Regions from separate parts of the Homo sapiens genome. Here all the other regions are linked to region 5. The links are contacts of gene promoters, found by promoter capture Hi-C in blood cells and fetal thymus (Javierre and others, 2016). All regions are on one chromosome and are shown on one strand. The core of a region is centred on a gene start or on the middle of the fragment in contact, and the rest is flanking DNA. Distances in the headings are between cores, read along the strand shown.

Evidence for each region. Contacts are between HindIII fragments. The CHiCAGO score rates a contact against its expected background, and 5 or more counts as called.
Region 1: a contact is called between a fragment that was not itself captured here and the fragment with the promoter of MC4R in region 5, in 1 of 17 cell types (fetal thymus). The highest score is 5.0, in fetal thymus.
Region 2: a fragment that was not itself captured here is called in contact with the fragment with the promoter of MC4R in region 5 in 1 of 17 cell types (fetal thymus); the score reaches 5.3 in fetal thymus.
Region 3: a fragment that was not itself captured here is called in contact with the fragment with the promoter of MC4R in region 5 in 1 of 17 cell types (fetal thymus); the score reaches 8.0 in fetal thymus.
Region 4: a contact is called between a fragment that was not itself captured here and the fragment with the promoter of MC4R in region 5, in 1 of 17 cell types (fetal thymus). The highest score is 5.7, in fetal thymus.
Region 6: a fragment that was not itself captured here is called in contact with the fragment with the promoter of MC4R in region 5 in 1 of 17 cell types (fetal thymus); the score reaches 6.8 in fetal thymus.
Region 7: a contact is called between a fragment that was not itself captured here and the fragment with the promoter of MC4R in region 5, in 1 of 17 cell types (fetal thymus). The highest score is 5.7, in fetal thymus.

The regions. Positions count from the first base shown.
Region 1 is chr18:59,902,178-59,905,150 of GRCh38, forward strand. It overlaps PMAIP1 (phorbol-12-myristate-13-acetate-induced protein 1), which reads left to right. Exons shown (of 2, transcript NM_021127.3): 2 at 470-2,128. The coding sequence ends at 576. Among named protein-coding and RNA genes, the nearest start is that of PMAIP1, 3.7 kb to the left of the region's middle. RefSeq lists an enhancer at 2,649-2,818. The HindIII fragment of the contact is 5,229 bases long and covers 1-2,973 here.
Region 2 is chr18:60,080,595-60,083,657 of GRCh38, forward strand. No RefSeq gene overlaps it. Among named protein-coding and RNA genes, the nearest start is that of LINC03111, 43 kb to the right of the region's middle. The HindIII fragment of the contact is 641 bases long and covers 1,037-1,677 here.
Region 3 is chr18:59,989,152-59,992,531 of GRCh38, forward strand. No RefSeq gene overlaps it. Among named protein-coding and RNA genes, the nearest start is that of PMAIP1, 91 kb to the left of the region's middle. The HindIII fragment of the contact is 1,051 bases long and covers 767-1,817 here.
Region 4 is chr18:60,008,853-60,012,241 of GRCh38, forward strand. It overlaps the pseudogene ENTR1P1. Among named protein-coding and RNA genes, the nearest start is that of PMAIP1, 110 kb to the left of the region's middle. The HindIII fragment of the contact is 7,406 bases long and covers 1-3,389 here.
Region 5 is chr18:60,371,300-60,374,684 of GRCh38, forward strand. MC4R (melanocortin 4 receptor) reads right to left here and starts at 1,476. Exons shown (of 1, transcript NM_005912.3): 1 at 1-1,476. The coding sequence starts at 1,050. The coding sequence ends at 52. The HindIII fragment of the contact is 4,351 bases long and covers 1,440-3,385 here.
Region 6 is chr18:60,048,245-60,051,293 of GRCh38, forward strand. No RefSeq gene overlaps it. Among named protein-coding and RNA genes, the nearest start is that of LINC03111, 75 kb to the right of the region's middle. The HindIII fragment of the contact is 1,244 bases long and covers 680-1,923 here.
Region 7 is chr18:60,111,015-60,114,225 of GRCh38, forward strand. No RefSeq gene overlaps it. Among named protein-coding and RNA genes, the nearest start is that of LINC03111, 12 kb to the right of the region's middle. The HindIII fragment of the contact is 862 bases long and covers 1,194-2,055 here.

The sequences.
Region 1 (2,973 bases), core at 272-2,771, 470 kb before region 5:
TACTTGAAAGCCACACAGAACTTGACTTCTGTTTCCCAGCCAACCTTAAATGAAGAGAAAAAGATGACATCATCTAAGGCTGGTGACTTATGCTACTCTTTGTAGCATTGCTTTTAAAATAAACAAAGTGGTTTTACAATGTTCTCACATCCCAAAGAATGATAATGCTACTCTTTGTGGTATTTGACATATTTGAAAGTAAGGTAACACTTGCCTCATCCAGGATGCGTTTTTTAAAAACTCAAAGTAAATGTCTTTATTCTTACCTTAACGATTGCTTTCGGTGAGTCACAATGTGTGTAAGTGTGTGTGTGTGTCACATTTGGAAAACAGGTGCACATAAAGCCAAAGTTAAGAGAAATGCTTCCTGGGATACTCAATTTGTCACTAGTGTGGGCGTATTAGGTTTTGCTGGTTACAGTCTGTAATATCATCAATGTTCATGTCCATGTTTTGCTTTCCTTCTCAGAGCTGGAAGTCGAGTGTGCTACTCAACTCAGGAGATTTGGAGACAAACTGAACTTCCGGCAGAAACTTCTGAATCTGATATCCAAACTCTTCTGCTCAGGAACCTGACTGCATCAAAAACTTGCATGAGGGGACTCCTTCAAAAGAGTTTTCTCAGGAGGTGCACGTTTCATCAATTTGAAGAAAGACTGCATTGTAATTGAGAGGAATGTGAAGGTGCATTCATGGGTGCCCTTGGAAACGGAAGATGGAATACATCAAAGTGAATTTCTGTTCAAGTTTTCCCAGATTATCATTCTTTGGGATGAGAGAACATTATAAAACCACTTTGTTTATTTTAAAGCAAGAATGGAAGACCCTTGAAAATAAAGAAGTAATTATTGACACATTTCTTTTTTACTTAGAGAATCGTTCTAGTGTTTTTGCCGAAGATTACCGCTGGCCTACTGTGAAGGGAGATGACCTGTGATTAGACTGGGCGGCTGGGGAGAAACAGTTCAGTGCATTGTTGTTGTTGCTGTTTTTGGTGTTTTGCTTTTCAGTGCCAACTCAGCACATTGTATATGATTCGGTTTATACATATTACCTTGTTATAATGAAAAAACTCATTCTGAGAACACTGAAATGTTATACTCAGTGTTGATTTCTTCGGTCACTACACAACGTAAAATCATTTGTTTCTTTTGACTCAAATTGTATTGCTTCTGTTCAGATGATCTTTCATTCAATGTGTTCCTGTTGGGCGTTACTAGAAACTATGGAAAACTGGAAAATAACTTTGAAAAAATTGGATAAAGTATAGGAGGGTTACTTGGGGCCAGTAAATCAGTAGACTGAACATTCAATATAATAAAAGAACATGGGGATTTTGTATAACCAGGGATAATAAAAAGAAAAAAGAAGTTAATTTTTAATTGATGTTTTTGAAACTTAGTAGAACAAATATTCAGAAGTAACTTGATAAGATATGAATGTTTCTAAAGAAGTTTCTAAAGGTTCGGAAAATGCTCCTTGTCACATTAGTGTGCATCCTACAAAAAGTGATCTCTTAATGTAAATTAAGAATATTTTCATAATTGGAATATACTTTTCTTAAAAAAAAGGAACAGTTAGTTCTCATCTAGAATGAAAGTTCCATATATGCATTGGTGAATATATATGTATACACATACTTACATACTTATATGGGTATCTGTATAGATAATTTGTATTAGAGTATTATATAGCTTCTTAGTAGGGTCTCAAGTAAGTTTCATTTTTTTTATCTGGGCTATATACAGTCCTCAAATAAATAATGTCTTGATTTTATTTCAGCAGGAATAATTTTATTTATTTTGCCTATTTATAATTAAAGTATTTTTCTTTAGTTTGAAAATGTGTATTAAAGTTACATTTTTGAGTTACAAGAGTCTTATAACTACTTGAATTTTTAGTTAAAATGTCTTAATGTAGGTTGTAGTCACTTTAGATGGAAAATTACCTCACATCTGTTTTCTTCAGTATTACTTAAGATTGTTTATTTAGTGGTAGAGAGTTTTTTTTTTCAGCCTAGAGGCAGCTATTTTACCATCTGGTATTTATGGTCTAATTTGTATTTAAACATATGCACACATATAAAAGTTGATACTGTGGCAGTAAACTATTAAAAGTTTTCACTGTTCTTTTCTGTGTGTTAATTTTGTCTTCATCTTGTAAGCTACTAATTACTAAGTGTTCATTATCAAGCCAAAGTATTTTAACTGATTTCCATCAGCAGACATCCTCTGACCTTCTGACCACACTGTCTCCTCCCAGTAGTTGGAGTAGAAAATATAGGGGAGTTTGCATGATTTCTGCTCTCAAGGGACTTACACTTTAATTGGGAGGGGAAATAGTGAAAAATAGGAAATGAATGCCCAACATAGGTCCTTTTTTTTTTTTTTTCTGAGACAGAGTCTTGCTCTGTCGCCCAGGCTGGAGTGCATTGGCACAATTTTGGCTCACTGCAACCTCTGCCTCCTGGGTCTAAGTGATTCTCGTGCTAAAGCCTCCCCCACACGCCACCACACTGGGTAATTTTTGTGTTTTTAGTAGAGACGGGGATTTCACCATGTTGGCCAGGCTGGTCTTGAACTCCTGGCCTCAAGTCATCTGCCCGCCTCGGCCTCCCAAAGTGCTGGGATTACAGCCTATACAGATTCATGATCTAATTAGAGGTGTTTTGTGAGCTGGCATCCTTGACTGCTCCTGGGTCTGTCTGGCAAGAGGAGCTGCAGTGCAGTTTCCTTTTTGGTGACCTCACGCTTCTTCCTCTGCTTCCAGCCGTAGAGTAGCAAAGATTGCTTCATCTGAGGTTAGTCATGTGCAAAAGTAGGTGTAACTCAATGGCCTTCCTGTTTGAGTGTGAGAACTAAAAGATACCCCTAGTTTTTAGCTTCAATCTGGTAGCCACATCTTCACCCCACCTCTGCCAAGGGAAAGAGTCAGCTGACACCTTAGAATGTAAATTGCCTTCCTAACATGGGA
Region 2 (3,063 bases), core at 107-2,606, 290 kb before region 5:
CAACGAGGAACTAATAATCAGAATATACAAGCAACTCAAACTACTCAACAGGAAAAATAATCACATTAAAAAGTGGGCAAAGGACATGAATAAACATTTCTCAAAAGAAGACATACAACTGGCCAACAGGTATATGAAAAAATGCTCGACATTATTAATAATCAGGGAAATGGAAATCATAATCACAATGAGATATAATCTTACCTTAGCTAGAATGGCTATTATTAAAAAGTCAAAAAGTAACTGATGCTATTCAGGATGTGAGAGAAGGGAACTCATGCACTTTTGGTGGGAGTGTAAATTATTATAGCTACTATGAAAAACAGTATGGAGATTTCTCAGAAATGAAATCAGTATATCAAAAGGATACCTGCCTCCCTGTGTTTATTGCAGCACTATTCACAACAGCAAAGATATGGAGTCAACGTATCCTTCAATGAACAAATGGACAAAGAAAATGTAATATATAAACACGATGGCATACTATTCAACCACAGAAAAGAAAGAAATTGTGTCATTTAGAGCAAAATGAATGAAATTGAAATCTCATGTTAAATTAAGTAAGTCAGGCACAGAAAAACAAGTATCTCATGTTTTTACCATATGTGGGAATTTAAAGAGTTGATTTCATGAAAATTGAGAGTAAAATTTAGGTACCCGAGTCTGGGATGGATGTGTGGGTGAGTGGTGGGGTGGGAGCCTTGAAGAGAGACTGGTTAATGGGTACTATGGCAGAGTGGGGTGACTGTAGTTAATAACAATGTATTGTGCATTTCAAATTAGCTAGAAGAGAAGACTTGAAATGTTCCCAATACATAGAAATGATAAATACTTGAGGTGATGGATACACCAATACCCTGGCTTGATCATTACATATTCTATTAATGTAACCAAATATCACATGTACCCCATAAATATGCACAAATATTATGTATCAAAAATTAAAATCTCAAAAATTTTAGTATCCAAAGTGTATAAGACATATGTGTCATATGGAAGAAGAAACAGTAAATCTTAGCCAAAATAATAATTTGTAAGCTTCTTTTGGATAGGAATATTTTGTATTTTTCAAATCACAAACCTTCTAAGTCTCAATTTTCTCATTTAAAAAACATATGCTTGACTTAAATTTGCAAATTCTTTAATATTTAAAATACTATAAAAGAAAACAAATGTATAAAATTTCAAGCCAATTATCTCTATGGAAATTTATGTGGATGCCGCACACAGAAGGAACAAATCGAAGAAAAATCTTACAAGTAAAATTTCACTTATGTAATTTCCTAATTTCCTAAAACAAGCAGTTAAAATAGACATGAAATATCTTAATTTTCAATCCACAGAATAAATAAAACAATATAATTTTATTTTATAACCAAACAATTTTAATTTCCCTATTTTCTTCACATAATATTGTATTTGAAATGAACTTTTTCTATCATATGTAGTGCAAACACATAAGCGTACTTATTCAAGTGCACAGATGTTGTTTCTAGCAGGATTTAAAATTGCTATTATTGGGCAAACTAACATAAAAATGGACCTTAATGTTTGTATGTTGATTCAACAGGATAGAATTTAATGTTGCAAAAAGAAATGATAAGCAGCAGATGAAACAAGTTATTATCTTTGCCTGTATTGCCACATTAATCGTTTATTATTAGAACTAAAATTTTAAGCTTTTTTTTGTTAATATTAGTCATTATCATACATATGCATATACTTTCGTATAAACAACACAACTAATGTATTAGTGCCAGTTATTATCTGTGTGGCTATTAGCAAGTCATATAGTTTTCCTCATTAACAAATAGGCTACCTAAACCTCTGGTTTCTCATTTACAACAGGCAACAGAGTTTTTGAAGAAAAACAATTGGTGTTAATGCCTGGCATGGGCTTAGCACACAAATTCTCAATAAATGGTAACTTATTAACAGTTGATAGGTATTTGTATCTATTGTCAGTGAATTTCAGTATTTTTAAATTTTAAGACAATACTTAAATTTTGCCTTGTTTATAAAAGGAAAAGCCAATTTGTAATAAATTCTCAGAATCGTCTTAAGCTTAACATCTACTTTTCTTTGTTTTCTTTTATGATGAACTACAGCATCTGAATTGGCTTAATTAATTAGCAAATAACATTTTCTAGATTTATAAAGATAAATTAGTCCAAGTCATTTTTTCTTTAAAGGATATCCATTTTTCAACTATTTTTTGCATGGGGACTTTAGATTTTGGGAAAAGCCTTTTTGAGAAGTAGTATTTTAGATTCTATGATTTCTTAGACATACTGCTGGTAAATGGTTTTCTTTCATCTGTGCATGCTACATTGGGTTTCTGTGGGCAACAATCATGCCTTCTGTGGTTTTTGCACTCAGTAACTCTACCCCTTAGTGTGATCTTGCTTCGGTATTAGAGAGACTCAGGGCTGGAAGAGAATATCTGATGTTCTACCCAGCATGCAGTCCTCACCAAGTATCTCTTACAGATTCAAATCTTTTGGTATAACTCTCCTCCCACACACAAGGGATTCACTCTTTTTCAAGTAGACCTTGGTAAGTATATGACCCTTCAAAGATTGTAATAATCTAATTTATGATTTTTATTTAATAACTTGTTTGTTTATAAAGTTTTCTATTGTTTGAAGACACATTTAACTAAGATCTGTCTTCCTACAAGTTTTTACTGATTGATTGCAATTCTGCTCTCTCGCATTTAACAGAATTAAGTTTGGTTCAATTTTTCCCAAAGCTAATCCTTTAAATATTTAAGGAATCTATCATCTCACTATATATATTGTATTTTCTAAGCTGAACATTTCCAGTTTCTGTAGGTGGTCTTTCATATGATGAAATTTCTGAATTCTTCTTCATTCTGGGTGTTATTAGGTTTACCAACGTCCTTCTTGAAATGTGGTGTAAGAATTGAACAATCTTTTTTATTTATTTATTTTTTTTTTAACATTCTTTAGTTAAGATTTTTAACACTCTGAAGAGGCCTGAGCCTAGGGCTTTATTCTTTTGTTTGTTCAAGCTACACAGTTATATTAAGGCATTCTATCT
Region 3 (3,380 bases), core at 42-2,541, 380 kb before region 5:
GGAACAGTGTTTCTGTTAGGTATGAATATCCTTGGAAAGTGATATTTTGCACATCTTTAAAAATGCGTGGCTTTATGCGTGAGCTTAGTTCTTAGCTTTATACACACAATATACATATTTCTATTTTGGGTAAAGTTAAAATAACCAAAATAATTAATTATTCTGGCCTTTTTATGTGGCCATTTGACTCTTTTAAGTGTGTTAAAATATTTGCTTTACAAGTAGCTGGTCTTTGCTTATGTTTAGATAAGTACCTGTGTTATTGCCCTGTTCATTTAGTAATCTAAAATTCTAAGCCAGGGGAGCCATCACCAGGTGATACGGTTTGGCTCGGTGTGCCCACCCAAATCTCATCTTGAATTATAATCCCCACATGTCAAAGGAGGGGCCTGGTGGGAGAGATGATTGAAAAATGGGGTTGGATTTCTCCCTTGCTGTTCTCATGATAGTGAGTGAATTCTCACAAGCGTTGATGGTGCTTCCCCCTTCGTGTACACTCTCTCTCTCCTGCTGCCATGTAAGGTGTGCCTTGCCTCCCATTCCATCATCACTGTAAGTTTCCTGAGGCCTCCCCAGCCATATGGGACTGTGAGTCAACTAAACCTTCTTTTTATAAATTACCCAGTCTCAGGTAGTTTTTTTATAGTAGTGCAGAAATGGACTAATACACCAGGGGTCTTATAGTTAGTTGTTTCTTAGTAGATATTCTCATTTATATCATGTGGGGATTCACTTTGGTACATAATTAAATTTCCAAGAAAACTGAAGCTTTTTTCTTAGCCAAATATATAAACTTAAAAAAATTTCTATTACTTGGAAATTTCTTAGACATCTTCTTCCAAATTACACTAAACATTTGACGATCTCTTTCTTAATGAGATGTTTTACTTTATAGTGCTAGTCATTATTTTATTTTTTGCTGCTTGCTTCTAAATGGAATATTCCTATGGAGTGGCTGTAATTCATCGTTTCTTGCATTTTATCATTTAGATAACCTAAATACAAAAAAATTATCAACCACTGTAGCATGGATATAGATATCAGAATGGATGCTAGCTGAAAACACCTGCCTGATCATACCAGCATCTCCTAGTTAAATATTGGCACCTCCATTTACTTCCTCTAGTCTGACTCTCTGTCCAACAAATGGCTTTCTGATGACTAATTTGGATCGCAGGTACTTTGATTGGTGGAAGAATATGCTCTGGAGATGGAATATAAATATTCTGGTTACCACTGTAAAGGTGCATCCCCCTTCACTGTAAATAAATGAGTTGGCATCCAATCTATTGGTGACATGAGAGTTTAGTAGCTGATCTGAAAAGCTGAGGATCAGCTACATTATGGCCAACCCTCCAAGCTGGGAGGCTCTTACAGAGAAACCAGCCCACCCTTCTCTGCTTGTCTTGTCCTGCTGTATCTTTCACATCTCTCCCTTTCACTCCAATGCTATCATCAGCAGAGAGTGAGAACATCTAAACAATGTTTTAATGTGGTCTCAACATTGACCACAAAAAAAAAAAAAAAGCCATTTGGGTTTTGGATAAGAGCCCAAGTTTTAAATCATTAAACTTCTCCATTTCAAAGTGAAGAAGTTTAATGATTTAGTCTCAGACTAGCATGATTGCTGATAGTATGAACTCTGCAATTAAACTTTGTGGATTCAAATATTAGCTTTCCCACTTACTAGACCTATGAGCCTGCTTTCTTCCCTGGAAAATGGGGATAACAAAAGTTCTTAATACAGAGACTTTTAGGAGCAATAAATACATTCAAGATTCCAAAATAGAACTTAGCATATCATCACTATTCAGTGAAGCTTCACCATAATTACCTTTGCTGACCTTGGTTGGGGTTTTAGCACTGCTCAAGTGCTAATCATTCCTTGTGGTAGTTATTTTAAAATTTTCACACTTTGCTCAAGCTTTTCTCTCTCCAATTCCATCCCTTTTTCCTGATTACCATGTCTCCTTCTTCACAGATAAAATATAAACGACTGAATGTAATCTTTCCCAGCATCCCATCATCTGTAGATTTTTTTGCCACATATCCTTTTAACTAAAGGATTGTTTCTCAATGTATGGTCACTAGACCAGTATCATCATCATCACCTGGGAAACTGTTAAATGGCAGATTCTGGGGCCTCATTGCAGACCTACTAAATCAGATTCTCTGGGGGTAGAATCCAGGGATCTATGATTTAACAGAATCTCCCAGGGAATGCTAAAGTTTGAGCATCATTGCTCTAAAGCTTGGGGGTCTGACATGCAGGTCCACTTGACCAGGTCATTCTCTCCCTGGGAGTAGACCTTTAGCTTTATACACCAAGAGAAATAAAATCGTTTCCCTGTGATGTCTGGTGTGAACCATGGGGGTTTAGAGGAATCAAATGATGAATGGCAGGCTTAGCTTGGTTCATCTTTTCACAGTAAATCTAGGATGCCAGTGGAAGTAGACTGTGCAGAATCCATTGGAAAAGACTTTTACTGGGAGTACCTTGGGGTCACGCTGACAATATTTGCTTCAGTATCTCTTTTTTCATTAGTACTTCCATGGCTTTTAACTGAGATATTTCTGCTTTACATATACATATTTAAATTTTTTATTTTTAATTATTATGGGTATCTAGTAGCTGTATATACTTGTGGGGCATGTGTGATGTTTTTATTTTTATTTTGTATTTTAGAGACAGGACCTCTCACTATTTTGCCCAGGCTGGAGTGCAGTGGCATGATCATAGCTCACTGCAGCTTCAAACTCCTGGGCTCTAGAGATCCTCCTGCCTCAGCTCCCCCAGTAGCTGGGACAACAGGCATGTGCCACTATGCCTGGGTAATTTTTATTTTTTAAGATTTTTTTTGTAGATATGGGGTCTCATTATATTGCCCAGGTGAGTCTCAAATGCCTGGCTTCAAGTGATTCTCCCACCTTGGCCCCCAAAATGTTGGGATTACAGGTGTGAGCCAGCAAACCTGCCCTAATGTGATGTTTTAAGATCCCTCTTTACATATATTAATTCATCCAATCAGATTACCCACTGAAAAGGCATATTCCTCTCTATTGTAAATGAAGGAATTGGCATTCTACCTATCGCTAACACAAGTTTGGAACCTATTTCCTTTTTGTATCGATTTGAAAGCTTAATTGCAAGAGCGCAATCTTTTTTTCCCCCCACACTTCCAAGCTCTTAAGTAAAGTTTCCATGATAACAAGGGATTAAATTAGTGCCAACAGACAGGAAACCATGCCAGCAAATAATAATGTTTTACTTTTCTTCAAGGTGGAGAAAATAAGGATACCTTAATATCTGATGCTTCTGTGATCAAATTAATATGTATTCTTGGGAATGGGAAAATGCCATTTTCTAATCAGGTTTTGAG
Region 4 (3,389 bases), core at 574-3,073, 360 kb before region 5:
ATCATTACTTCACTTATCTGTTTTTGTGGTGAGATATTTGAAATGTACTCTCTTAGCAATTTTGAAATATACAATGCATTAACTATAGTCACTATGCTGTGCAATAGATTGCAAAAACTTATTCCTCTTGTCTAACTGAAACTTTTTCTTTGACCAACATCTTTCCACTCCCTCCCTCCCTCCATCAGTCTCCAGTTACCACAATGCTACTGTCTACTTCTATAAGTTCAACTTTTTTAGTTTCCACATATAATTGAGACCATGAGGTGTTTGTCTTTTTGTGCCTGTGCCTGGCTTATTTCACTTAGCAGAATGTATTCCAAGTTTATCCATGTTGTTGAAAATGACAGAATTTTCTTTTTTTTAAAAAAAGGCTGGCTAGTATTTCACTGGCATGTTTAAAAAAATACATGTATCCATTGGTGAATGCTTAAGTTTATTCCATGTCTTGGCCATTGTGAATAACGATTCAATAAACATGGAAGTGGAGGTTTCTCTTCAACATATTGATTTTATTTCCTTTGGATATGTATTGAGAAGTGGGATTGCTGGGTCACATGGAAGTTCTATTTTTAGTTTTTTGAGGAATCTTCATACTGTTTTCCATAATGGCTGTACTGTTTTACATTCCCACCAACAGTGCACAAGAGTTACCTTTCCTTTACATTCTTATCAACGCTTATCTTTCATCTTTTTTTTTTTTATAATAGCCATTCTAACAGGTATAAGGTAATATTGCATTGTGGCTTCCATTTTCATTTTCTTAATGATTAGTGATGTCAAGCATTTATTCATGAACCTGTTAGCTGTTTGTAAGTCTTCTTCTTCTTTTTTTTTTTTTTTCTTAAAATCGCTGGCTTTTATGACGATGTCTTCTAAGAGCTCATTAGAATCTATAAGATAGCAGGAATTTTGCCAACAAGGGCTGCATAGAAACCACAGGGGCAACTCGGCCAGGGCTGCTCCCATTGCGGTGGCCAAGAACTGGCTGAGGGCACGACACTGGACTCTTGGGATAAACACTTTACTCTGGGTGAAGGCTGCATATTTAAGGACACAACTGCACATTTAGATCAAGCAGTGGTGATCTCAGGGCATACACGGAGCTTCATGCTGAGAACACCCAGGGGTCCTCTAGAGTCTTCCTCCTCGTCTTTAATTTCAGAAATTCTGTCTACAGATTTAAGGATTTCGGCAGCAAGATTCAGTATCTCAGCTCTGGAAACCAGTTGCTTAATGGAAGCCTGTGCGCTGTTCATGACCACCCAGAGGTTCTGCAAGGCCACGTCGGCGTTCTGCTTCACCACTGTCAGGCTGGCCCCCTGGTCGCACCGCAAGGCTTCATTCTCTCGCTGGAAGCTGGAGACCTGCGCCTGCAGCAAACTGATTTCCTGTTTCAGTTTCACGACATGGTTTTCTGCCTTTACAGCCCGTTTGGTCATCAGCTCCAGGTTCTGCTCCACCTGCTGAACCACCAACTCCAAGTCGTGGTAGTCGCTTTCCTCGTTGATCATTTTTGCTTCTAATTTCCGCACAAGCGTCCTCACCATTTCTGTTTGAGCTTCAGAGAAGCTCTGAATCTCATTCAGCTTTCTTCTCAGCTTAGAATTTTCACCTTTCAGTGCTTCGTAACTTATCTGCAGCGTCCGCAGGTGCCTGTCTCCCAGAGACTCTCCCTGAGCCGCAAAATCGGTGCTAGGACTCCCTGCCGGAGAGGCCGGAGACACGCGAGAATCAGTGTCACTCAACGCCCACGGGAGCAGAGACTCGGGCCCTGCCAGCTCTGACGGGGTGGAGAAAAAGGAAAGGTATGTGCTGCAGGGCGACGTGCAGGCAGGGACCCTCTCCGGGTGAGTCTGCTGGATGGCGGACGGCAGGTAGGCCCCACTCCATCCGGTGTCCTCATCCTCCTCCTCATCCAGGAGGTCACCGGCCCCTGTCGGGTCCTCGAAAAATGGCTGCCGATACTCCAGGCCATACCCCCCGGTTTGGGAGAGTGGGGAGTTGTGGTCAAGTCCCAGTGAATGCCTCGACGCTTCCTTTGCATAAATTCTGCTGACCGGGTCCTCTTTTGACAGGCCGATGTTCTTGGTCTTCAGAAACTCTTTAAAGGAGAATGGATTTGCCTCTTCAAGATCTTCAAATTTGTCATCTCCAAAATGTGTCTCGTGGGCTCCTGACGGGCTCTGCTTAGAACATTTCCCCTTTCCATAGCCCAAATCGTCGGGAATGGCGAGGCTCCGGGCTCGGGACAGCGGGGTGACGCCCCGGCGGCGCGGGTAGCTCGACATCGCCGTGGGCCAGGCGGGGCAGGCGGGGCAGGACCTGCCTAGCCCGGCAGCGGCGGCTCAATGGCCCCTGCTCTGCCCGTGCCGCGGCCCGTGTCAACCGCCCCCGTCGCCCGCCGCTCGGCCGCCCCCGATCCTCCGAACCTCTCGTAAGTCTTTTGACCAATGTCTATTCAGGTCCTTTGCCCATTTTTAAAGCAGGTTATTTGTTTTTTTGCTATTGAGTTTAGTTCCTCATATGTTGTGTTAGGCCATTCTTATATCACTCTAAAGAAATACCTGAGGCTAGGTAATTTATTAAAAAAAAAAAAAATAAGAGGTTTAATTGGTTTATGGTCCTGCGGGCTGTACGGAAAACGTGGTGTTGGCATCTCCTTCCGGTGAGGGCCTCAGGGAGCTTACAATCTTGGTGGAAGGTGATGGGAAGCCAGCATGTCACATGGTGACAGTAGGAGCAAGAGAGAAGGGGGGAGGTGCCATACTCTTTTTAACAACCAGATCTTGCCTGAACTTAGAGTGAGAACTCTCTCATTACCAAGGGAATAGAACTAAGCCATTCATGAGGATCCATCCTCATGATCCAAACACTTCCCACCAGGCCCTACCTCCACTACTAGGGATTACATTTCAACATGAGATTTGGAGCAAACATCCAAACCATATTATATGTTTTGGATAGTAACCCCTTATCAGATGTATGGTTTGCAAATATTTTCTCCTATGCCATGTATTGTCTCTTCACTCTGCTATTTGTTTCCTTTGCTGTGCAGGAGCTTTTTAGAGTGATGCAGTCCTATTTGTCTCTTTTTGCTTTTGTTGCATATACTTTTGGGGTTATATTCAAAATATTGTCCAGACCAATGTCATGGAGCTTTTCCCTTATGTTTTCTTTTAGTAGTTTAACTACTAAAATAAAGTTTCAGTAGTTTAGTGAAACTACTAGGTTTCAGGTCTTAATTTGTCTTTAATCCAGTTTGAGTTGATTTTTGTATATGGTGAAAATAAGGATCCAATTTCATTCATCTACATTTGGATATCCAATTTTCCCCACACCATTTATTGAAAAAGCTGTCCTTTCCTCATTGTCTCTTCTTGGCACCT
Region 5 (3,385 bases), core at 226-2,725:
GAGTGAAAAAGTCTCTTATGCATGTTCCTATATTGCGTGCTCTGTCCCCATTTAATATCTGCTAGACAAGTCACAAAGGCCTCCCAGGGGATAGCAACAGATGATCTCTTTGAAGGTTTTCCTCAGTTCTTGACTCCGGAGTGCATAAATCAGAGGATCGATGATTGAATTACACATGATCAGTATGAGATACAAGTTAAAGTGAGACATGAAGCACACACAATATGGATTCTGAGGACAAGAGATGTAGAATATTAAGTGGAGGAAGAATGGGGCCCAGCAGACAACAAAGACGCCAATCAGGATGGTCAAGGTAATCGCTCCCTTCATATTGGCACCTTGGCGGATGGCACCAGTGCCGGGGAGGACAGCAATCCTCTTAATGTGAAGCCTGGCCATCAGGAACATGTGGACATAGAGAGAAGCCATGAGAGCCAGCATGGTGAAGAACATGGTGATGAGGCAGATGATGACAGCACTACTATCTGAGTAAATGATGAACAAAATGCCTGAAACCGTGCAAGCTGCCCAGATACAACTTATGATGATCCCAACCCGCTTAACTGTCATAATGTTATGGTACTGGAGAGCATAGAAGATAGTAAAGTACCTGTCCACTGCAATTGAAAGCAGGCTGCAAATGGATGCAAGCAAGGAGCTACAGATCACCGAGTCAATGACATTATCAATATTCACTGTGAAACTCTGTGCATCCGTATCTGTACTGTTTAATAGGGTGATGACAATGGTTTCTGATCCATTTGAAACGCTCACCAGCATATCAGCCACAGCCAAGCTGCAGATGAAAAAGTACATGGGTGAATGCAGATTCTTGTTCTTGGCTATTGCCACAATCACTAAGATATTCTCCAACAAGCTGATGACACCCAGAGTCACAAACACCTCAGGAGAGACAAAAAGTTGCTCGTAGCACCCTCCATCAGAGTAGCCTTTTCCAAGGGACTCACTGGCATTGCTGTGCAGTCTGTAACTGCTGCGGTTCCAGAGGTGCAGAGAAGTGTGCATCCCACGGTGGGTGGAGTTCACCATGCTGGCAGGAGAATTCCAGTGTCCCCCTGAATTGATTTAACCTCCTGGGTCAGGGAGTCGTCTCAGTTATTTCCTCCAAGTCTTTATCTGTCTGAAAGTTGTGAGGCTAAAATTGCCATGCCTGCTGTGAGTAAATGTCACAAGTCCAGAGCTTGACATGGAGTTTTTAGTCTCTTTTAGGTACGACTCTAATCATCATCACTTTAAAATCTTGGGCTTCAAAATATTCATTCTCAGTTGAAAGAGTCTGCTCTTTGCTTTCTTGTTCTCACTTCTGCTTTAACTTTAATCTTATGCATTCAAGTCTGTTCAAAATAATTTTCCTTGAAGCTGCCATGCCATTGGGAGACGAATCTGTGCGCACATGCTCACATCGGCTGCCTCTCGGAAGCTTCTGTTTCCAGCCTGAGCGTTGCTTTGAGTGTTAGGGGCTGTAGGCGCCAGCTGCTGATTTTTATGATGTGTGGAGAGAAAAAAAACATGTTCACGGTGGCTCCTCCTCTGCTTCCTTCTGACCAATCCCAATGCAATGGGAGTCTGTGAGACAGGATTATGTTTCAGAGACACAAATTGCAGGGTGACACAGATTCAGATGCAGAAGCTCCTGAAGTCTGAAGTCGAGAAGCAAGCCGGATAAGAGACTGAATTTCCCTTTTTAAGTTTTCAAGGGAAACAACTTGATCCCTAGAGGCCATTCTGTGATATCAAAACAAGCTATCTTCAGGCAGCCAGGTTCATTCTTATGTAAAAGACATCATGTGTGTGTGTAAAATGAAATGGAAAGTATACTGTCTTATGTTCCTGAAACAGATACTCTGCTTTTTGGCTAGGATACTGAATTTATTTACCTTCTTAATTTTTTGTTTTTATTAAGAACCCAGCCAGTAGTGGTTCAGTTAAAATACCTGAAAAACAGAGAGGATATTTAATGATACAGATAGACATGGTATGGCTGGAAGAACTATGTAGGTAGCTATAAATTATGAATGGGTTCAAAAGGGGTTGATTTTAATGCACTAATATCCCATATTTCTCTATTGAGGAGTTTGTGTTATAGCTGAAAAAAGGTGCTTTTTATTTACAATATTTTAAACTCATACGGCATTAATGTAACTATGCTTACACTGAACTCAGGAAAATAATAAGCTGCATTCTGTTTTTTTTTTTTAAGCAACTTTTTTTTAAACCTCCAGAGTTTAACGTATCGTAAGTTGAACCGACAAATACCTAGTAACTTTACTTATCAAGCCAAGACTGGTGATACTAGTTAGTTATTGAAGTTTCTGAATATTTTGCTTAAGGTGGTTTGAAAGATGGCAGCAAAGTTACTTTCCAAATTAACTGAACAACAGATTATACAAAATTTTGTATATTCTTTTCTTCTATGATTATTTTTGGTTTTAGTGCTCTATAGTTTGTAGCTGCTTATTTCAGGGTTAATTCTGAATCTCAGTTACTTAGGTTGGGAATGTATCCTCTTTCCTTTTGTGACAGAGACAATACTAAGTATTGTTCCTGAGCATTGAGATAAATTAACGTCTTCCATCCACCTTTGGAATTGGGTAGGACCTTATGACTAAATTCTAGCTAATGGCATGTTGACAGTGGGGCTCATCGCATTAGCTCTTTCATAATTTTACACAAGTTTTCTCTCCTGTCTTTGAAATCTCATGTTACAGGTGGCAGGACCATATCATGAAAGGAGCCTGTCTCTTGAATGATTGCACAGAGCAGAACTCACACCTCCAACTCCCTTCCCCTGTATTTCTGAATGCCTAATCATCTGTATATTGTAAAATGCTGGAATGGGCTTTCCTGAACATCATGAGCTGGAAATAATCTTACCTTCCTCTTGCCTTATTTTTTCTCTTTTTAAAAATTGACATATAATTCACATACCAAAAAAAATCACCTCTTTAGTAATTAAATGGATTTTTGGGGGAATATATTCACAGAGTTGTGCCATAATCATCACTTTCTATTTCTAAAACATTTTCATTATCCCATTAGCAGTTGCTCCCCATTTTACCCTTTCCTTATCCTCTAGGAACTGCTAATCTACTTTCTGTCTCTATCAATGTGCCTATTTTAGACATTTTATATGATTGAAATAATGCAATATGTGGCCTTTTGTGGCTCACTGTTTTCATGTAGCATAATATTTTCAAGGTTTGCTTACACTATAATGTGAATCAGAATTTGATTTTTAAAAAATTAAAACAGGATCTTGCTCTGTCACCCAGGCTGGAGTGCAGTGGCATGATCATGGCTCACTAGGTTCAAGTGATCCTCCTACTTCAGCCTCCTGAGTAGCTGGAACTAAATGTACCTCCAC
Region 6 (3,049 bases), core at 52-2,551, 320 kb before region 5:
GTTTTGGGGGTTTGTTGTAGAGATTATTTCATCACCCAGGTCTTAAGCCTAGTACCCATTAGTTATTTTTTCAGATCCTCTCCCTCCTCCCAACTCTCCACCCTCCGAAAGGCCCCAGTGAGTGTTATTCACGCTGAGGTATTAATGGATGAAATAATATAATTCCTTCAGTTTCTTTAGCAATAATGCTTGTGTGAGGTTTTTGATGTGACTATGTCTTGAACAAGGTAGTCTATGAAATTACAAAAGTTGAAGCTGGGTAATGTGTAGGACATGGTGCTGTATTATAGTATTTTTCTACTTTTGTATATATTTAAAATTTTCCATAAAGTAAGGTTTAAAATATAATACTAACGTTTAAAATATAATACTAATATAGTGACAACCGATGTCCACAACTCCAAGTTTAAGGAGAAACATTAGGGATGTAGCCAAATTTCTCTTTGTGCTGTTCCCCAATTACATTTCAGTCTCTTTTCTTCAGGCATACTGTTTCCCAGAATTTATCATTTTTTACCCTCATTGATACCTTTACAATTTTACTGCATATACTTATATCTGTAAACTTTACAAAGAATTTCTTGCACATTAAAAAGCTCTGTCTGTGGTGGTGTATCATATATACAAATATATTCAACATTATATTTGTGGGGTTCATTAATGTTGATACATGACATAAAGCTTCAGTTCATTTTTTTACTGTTGTTTAGGATTTCATTGTAGGAATATGAATTTGTCTATCTATTACCTGTTGATGAATATTTGGGTTGTTTCCAATTATTTGCAATTATAAATAATGCTGTATGAAACTTGTATACATATTTCCTTGGCATCCTGAGCAAGAATTATTCTAGGGCTTGTTGCTTAGAAGTAGAAATGTTACATTTCATGGCATGCACACCTTAAACACTGCTAACTATTGCCAGTGGCTTTCCAAGTGTTTATACCAATTTGCATTTTTTCTACCAGCAATGGCTAAAAGTTCCCATTTCTCAAACTTTGACAAGTATTTGCCAATATTTTAATTTTTGTCAAATTGATGGGTATGAAATAGTATCCTTTTTTGTGTTAGTTTGCATTTCTCTGCTGACATCTAGTGAATTTGACTACCTTTTCTCATGCTGTTGGTCATTTGATTTCCTTTTCTGTAAACTGCCTGTTCATATCTATTGCTCCTTTCTCTATTGTGTTTGCTTTTTATTATGCTGATTTGTGGTAGTTCATATATATGTACTGTACTTTTTGTTATTTTTATATATTTCAAATACCTTCTCCCAGTATACAGTTTTTCACACTCTTTTAATCATATTTTTGATCCATGGAAGTTTTAATGTTAATTTAAATGCATCTATCCTTTTCTTTATGGTTTATGCTTTCTGTATTTTTAAAATTCTTTCCCATCCCTAATGCAATAGGAAATCCTATATTTTCTTTTCAAAGTTTAAAAAATTTGATCATTTAATTTGGACCTAAATCCAACAGGGACAGTGGAGAATATGTGTTTTTTGATGATAGAATAGCATCCTCAGCTTTCTTCCTGTCTGAGAAATTGGAAGCCCAGAAGCCTTTTTACACATACAATAGGCTAGTACAACTTTTGCTAATACGTCTCTCTCAAAAACTTTGTGGGTTTTCTGTGTATCTGTTTCCAGTTAACTCTATTTGCCCAAAAATATACTCACAATTATTTTTAATACATCATTTTCTCTATACTTAATTACAAGTATTTTAAGCATATTGCATCTGTGGGACCATGCCCCTAAATATTATAGATGCTGTTTTTGTCAGTAAGACAGCCTACTGAAATCATCTAGAGATGGCTACACTCTTGCCTTGGTCTTTGATACGGGGCTATAACCTAATTTGAAAATCTAGTGGCTGGAGAAGCTGGAGAAGGGAAAGAGTTCAGTGTTTTAGTTAATAAGCTTTTGGTTTTCTTTTCTTTTTTTTTTCAATGAAAGCAAGTTTATTAGGAAAGTAAAGGAATAAAAGAATGGCCACTCTGTAAACAGAGCATGGTTATTTTTTTGGTTATTTCTTGATTATATGTGAAACAAAGGGTGGATTACTTATGCTTCCCCTTTTTAGACCATAGAGGGTAACTTCCTGACGTTGCCATGGCATTTGTAAACTGTCATGGTACTAATGTGAGTGTAGCAGTGAGGATGACCAGAGGTCATACGTTGCCATCTTGGTTTTGGTGGGTTTTGGCCGACTTCTTTACTGCAAACTGTTTTATCAGCAAGGTCTTTGTGACTTGTATCTTGTGCCAACCTCCTATCTCATCCTATGACTTAGGATGCCTTAACCATCTGGGAATGCAGCCCAGTAGGTCTCAGCCTTATTTTACCCAGCCAGCTTTTGGTTTTCTATGTTCCCTCTCATTCTGCTTGCCAAGGTGTCCAGTTGTTTTCTGAGGTTGTGCCTTTCTCATAGAGCCTTTCCAAATGCACCTAAAAGCAACTGATTGACACTTTCAACATTTTGCCTGGAAACCATGAGGCACAGGTTCACATATTTATTTTCTTTCTTTATCTCAGGTGACAGTGGTAGCCATCTTTTGGTTACTATGTAACACAAGTTGTTATATTTCTAGCCACCCATAACAGGCGTTATGGGTGGAACAATAATAGTTTTCTCACAAATTGTCCAGCCTCCTATGAAGTTTCTTTGTCTTCTGTTGTCCTATACCCAAATCAATACCACACATGTTAGCTTTTCATTTTAGCATTTTATGCAAATAAAGTCATGTAATTCTTGCAACTTTACAAGACAGGTACTGTTATTACTCTTTTTGTGGCTGAGAAAATGGGGACTCTCCTCTGATACAGGAGTTTTGATATTAATAGATATCCAATAGATTTTGCTAGATAAAATGAATAAGCAAATACTTTTTCTGATTAATCCTAATACTTGAATATTTCATTCATATTTCAACATATTTAAATACTTTTTTGAAATTTAATGTATGTTCACTGGACTGAAAAATGTTTCTTTGATCTTGTTTGTTTATTTCTTTATACATCTTATGTTTTTCTTGCCTGACAGC
Region 7 (3,211 bases), core at 375-2,874, 260 kb before region 5:
TCTAGGACACCCATAGAATGGGACATAAGGCAGGATGTTTAGAAAAGAAAGGGGAAGAAAGGCCAAAGTTGGAAGCAAGGGCATTACAGAGCAGAACCAGCTGGGGAGTTTAGGAAAAAAAAAAAAAAGAAAATTATCTGAAATCTGAACTAAAACAAACATGAAGTTGCTTAGTTTTGTCCAGACTCTGATTCCATTTGTTGTTTTCTAAAAAGCTACCATTTTCTTCCATCATCTGGCAAAGTGAAAAGAAAATGGGAAGTTTATATCTGTAAAGTCTAGGTATTCATTGTATAATATCAAGGAGTATGTTTTGTGTTGTTGCCGTAATTATAGTAGTTAAATAACTGTTTAATTATATTCATATACAATTAAATGATAAGCAAATATTTAGGAGTACAAATAATTTTAATATTTTACCATTACATACTTATTGAAGCATTGGTTTTATTAAACTTTCAAAGTAATATGGCAAAAAGGTGGCCACATACCAAATAGTATCATACATTTCTTAGAATCTCTCCTAGCAAATAAACCTACAATTAAATTTAGAGTATGAGTCAGTTGAAAAGACAATTTAATTTTTTTGCCATAGAATTAAAATATTTCTGAGAAGTCAGAGTGCTTTGCAATGTTTGGTGAATAATTTACATAATTCCGGAATAATGTCTCACTTATGGAGAATACACCTACCACTTCCTTCGGTAAACAGAAATAGAGTCTATGGTTTCTAGAATCACTTTGTTTTATCCTTTTTCATTCCTTTGCAAATTGAGCAAACCTGAATAAACAGTAGGTTCTTTCATAGTGCTTCATTTACAGATTTATGTGATATATATTTTCATCACATTGTAAAAACTGGAGAATATCTCATCTGTATATAGAACATAATTATCTGAGAGAATCTAAAGATCACAGCCTAACCTTATTTTTACAGGGTAATACTTCCTCTGACATCTTAAAGTTTGCTTCTGTGTCTAGGAAACTCAATTAATATAACTCCTGGATTCTCTTCACTCATTCCAGGATCATTTATTTTATTAGCAAATTTGGGAAAGAATAATTAGAGTTGTATATCATGTATTTAATGTTATATTTGAGAATATTTAATTTTGCACCAAAAACAAAACCCAGAAAAGTAATGGGATGGATGAAACTGATAGTCTCCATTTGTTACAAATTGTGAAGTTGGAAGCTTGTATAACCTGTCTAAGACAAAATAAGTGAAAGATGTGGGTCGAACATAGATGAAGAATGGAACAAATGAGAGTGCCGCCTGTAGATAGAAATGGAAGAACCAAGTAAATATTAAATATTAGCAAAGCACAGAACATGTTACGTCTACAGTGACAACCAAATCATTCCTAAATCAACCATTTATTGGTGACACAAAGTCTGGCCCCAACTGTATGCTGATGCGGAAATTCAGAAATAAGGCCTGGCTGCTCGGTAGGTTGTAGATAGCTACAGCTGTGGCCAAGCATACTTGCGTCCTCATTTCTCCAATACCACAAGCACGTGTTGGCTCCAGGCACTATCTACCTGTTGGGACCTGTTGTTCAGTCTCAACCCTGGTCTTTGTAATCACAGCATCAGCAGGAAAGGCTGATGTGGAGAGAAATAGGACATATGAACGTTGCATAATCCTGGACTCAGTAGTGTGGTCCTTCCATATCCACCATATCTTATCCCATCTTGTTCCTCTGCTTGTTTCTATATGTTTTAAAATTGATTTAATACATTGCATGAGTTGAGCATCTTAACATGATACATAAGACTTGTTGTTCTGTAACTTTTTAGATAGTTTGTGTGGTATTGTACTTGGAGACTACCATTAGGCAAGGTAAAATTTCTCCTAATACAGGTAGCTCACTCAGTCACGCTTTTCTTACTTTGGGGATCTAGCTGCTCAGAGAGAACAGATGTTCCACAGCTGTCCCCAGGAACAAGCTCTTCTGCTGCAACAGGGAGGCCTGCCAGACTTGACCCCTGAATAGGGAAGTCTGTCTAGTCCTTGCTCGTTTCATTCTCACACCAGCTAGGCCCTCTGACTTAAGCTTTATAGATAATAAAGATAATATTTTGACCTCCCACCTGTCACTATTTAATTTTGTTTTTCAATTTATTCAGCACGTGGGTACAAAAAAGCAATAACATTTGTTGGACCCATTTAGGCTTTCCAAGCTTTCCTCACCTTAGAATTGGGGTCACTGAGGCCAAAGTAGGCCAAGGAACATTTAGACTGTCCTTGTTACCAGGGCGGGTATAGTAGCATTCTTGTTTCTTTAAGATCAAACATGGAGGTATGGGCTCCTGCTGGGACTCTCTGTTGCTCTGTTGTGTTTCAGGTGGGCTGCATCAAATTGGGGCCTTAGTGGTCGCTCTTGTCCTGTATCCTCTGGATGTGGAAGGCTCATGCCCAACACATCTAAAGGACCTAACCCATGGGCCCCAGGTTATCCTGTCCTGGGCTTAATTATCTTCTCCAGTCTGCTCATGTGTCCTATGGCCAATTATGGCTGTATTTCCATCCAGACTTATGGAAGCTTATTTTTTTCTACCTCCTACATTATGTGAACACTGGCTCTGAGTTAATCCTGAGATTAACTGAGGCTGAGTCAAACCAGTGCCTTGTTTCTTCAGGAGCCAGCAGTATAATCCTTTGACATTTTCCTGTAGTTATGTAATCCCTTGACATCTCTCTTGTAGGTCAGTTTTATGCTAAGATGATAACACTTCACTTGTTTTCAAGTACATGGTCTCTCCTAGACTGCTTTCAAAATCTTAGTTTCCTGACTTTAAGATGCTATCCTCTCTGCTCTTTCTTCATTCCATTTCCTTCCACTCAAGGAAGTGGTAGAATTTTACTCCTGAGTTTTCTAGGAAAAAGCAGCTTTCCAAATAAAATGCTTAAAACAGTTTATTTACTAGTAACAAGGAAATTAGTACCTTCTCTTACCTTTAATTTCAGATCTATCAGTTACTCACCTCCAACATTACCCAATTTCTTTGTCCTTAAAGTGTTCATTTTACTTCAAAACCTGTTGCTATCAGTGAGAATAATGACTGCATTTTGCTTATTTATGGCTTCTAGGGCCTAGCACAATTCCTGGCTTAGTAAGGAGGAAATATATCATAGTGATTAAGAGCTGTTAGAGAAAATATATACCTATATATTTGTCACTCAATTTCTATTTTTCTTTTTCTAAAA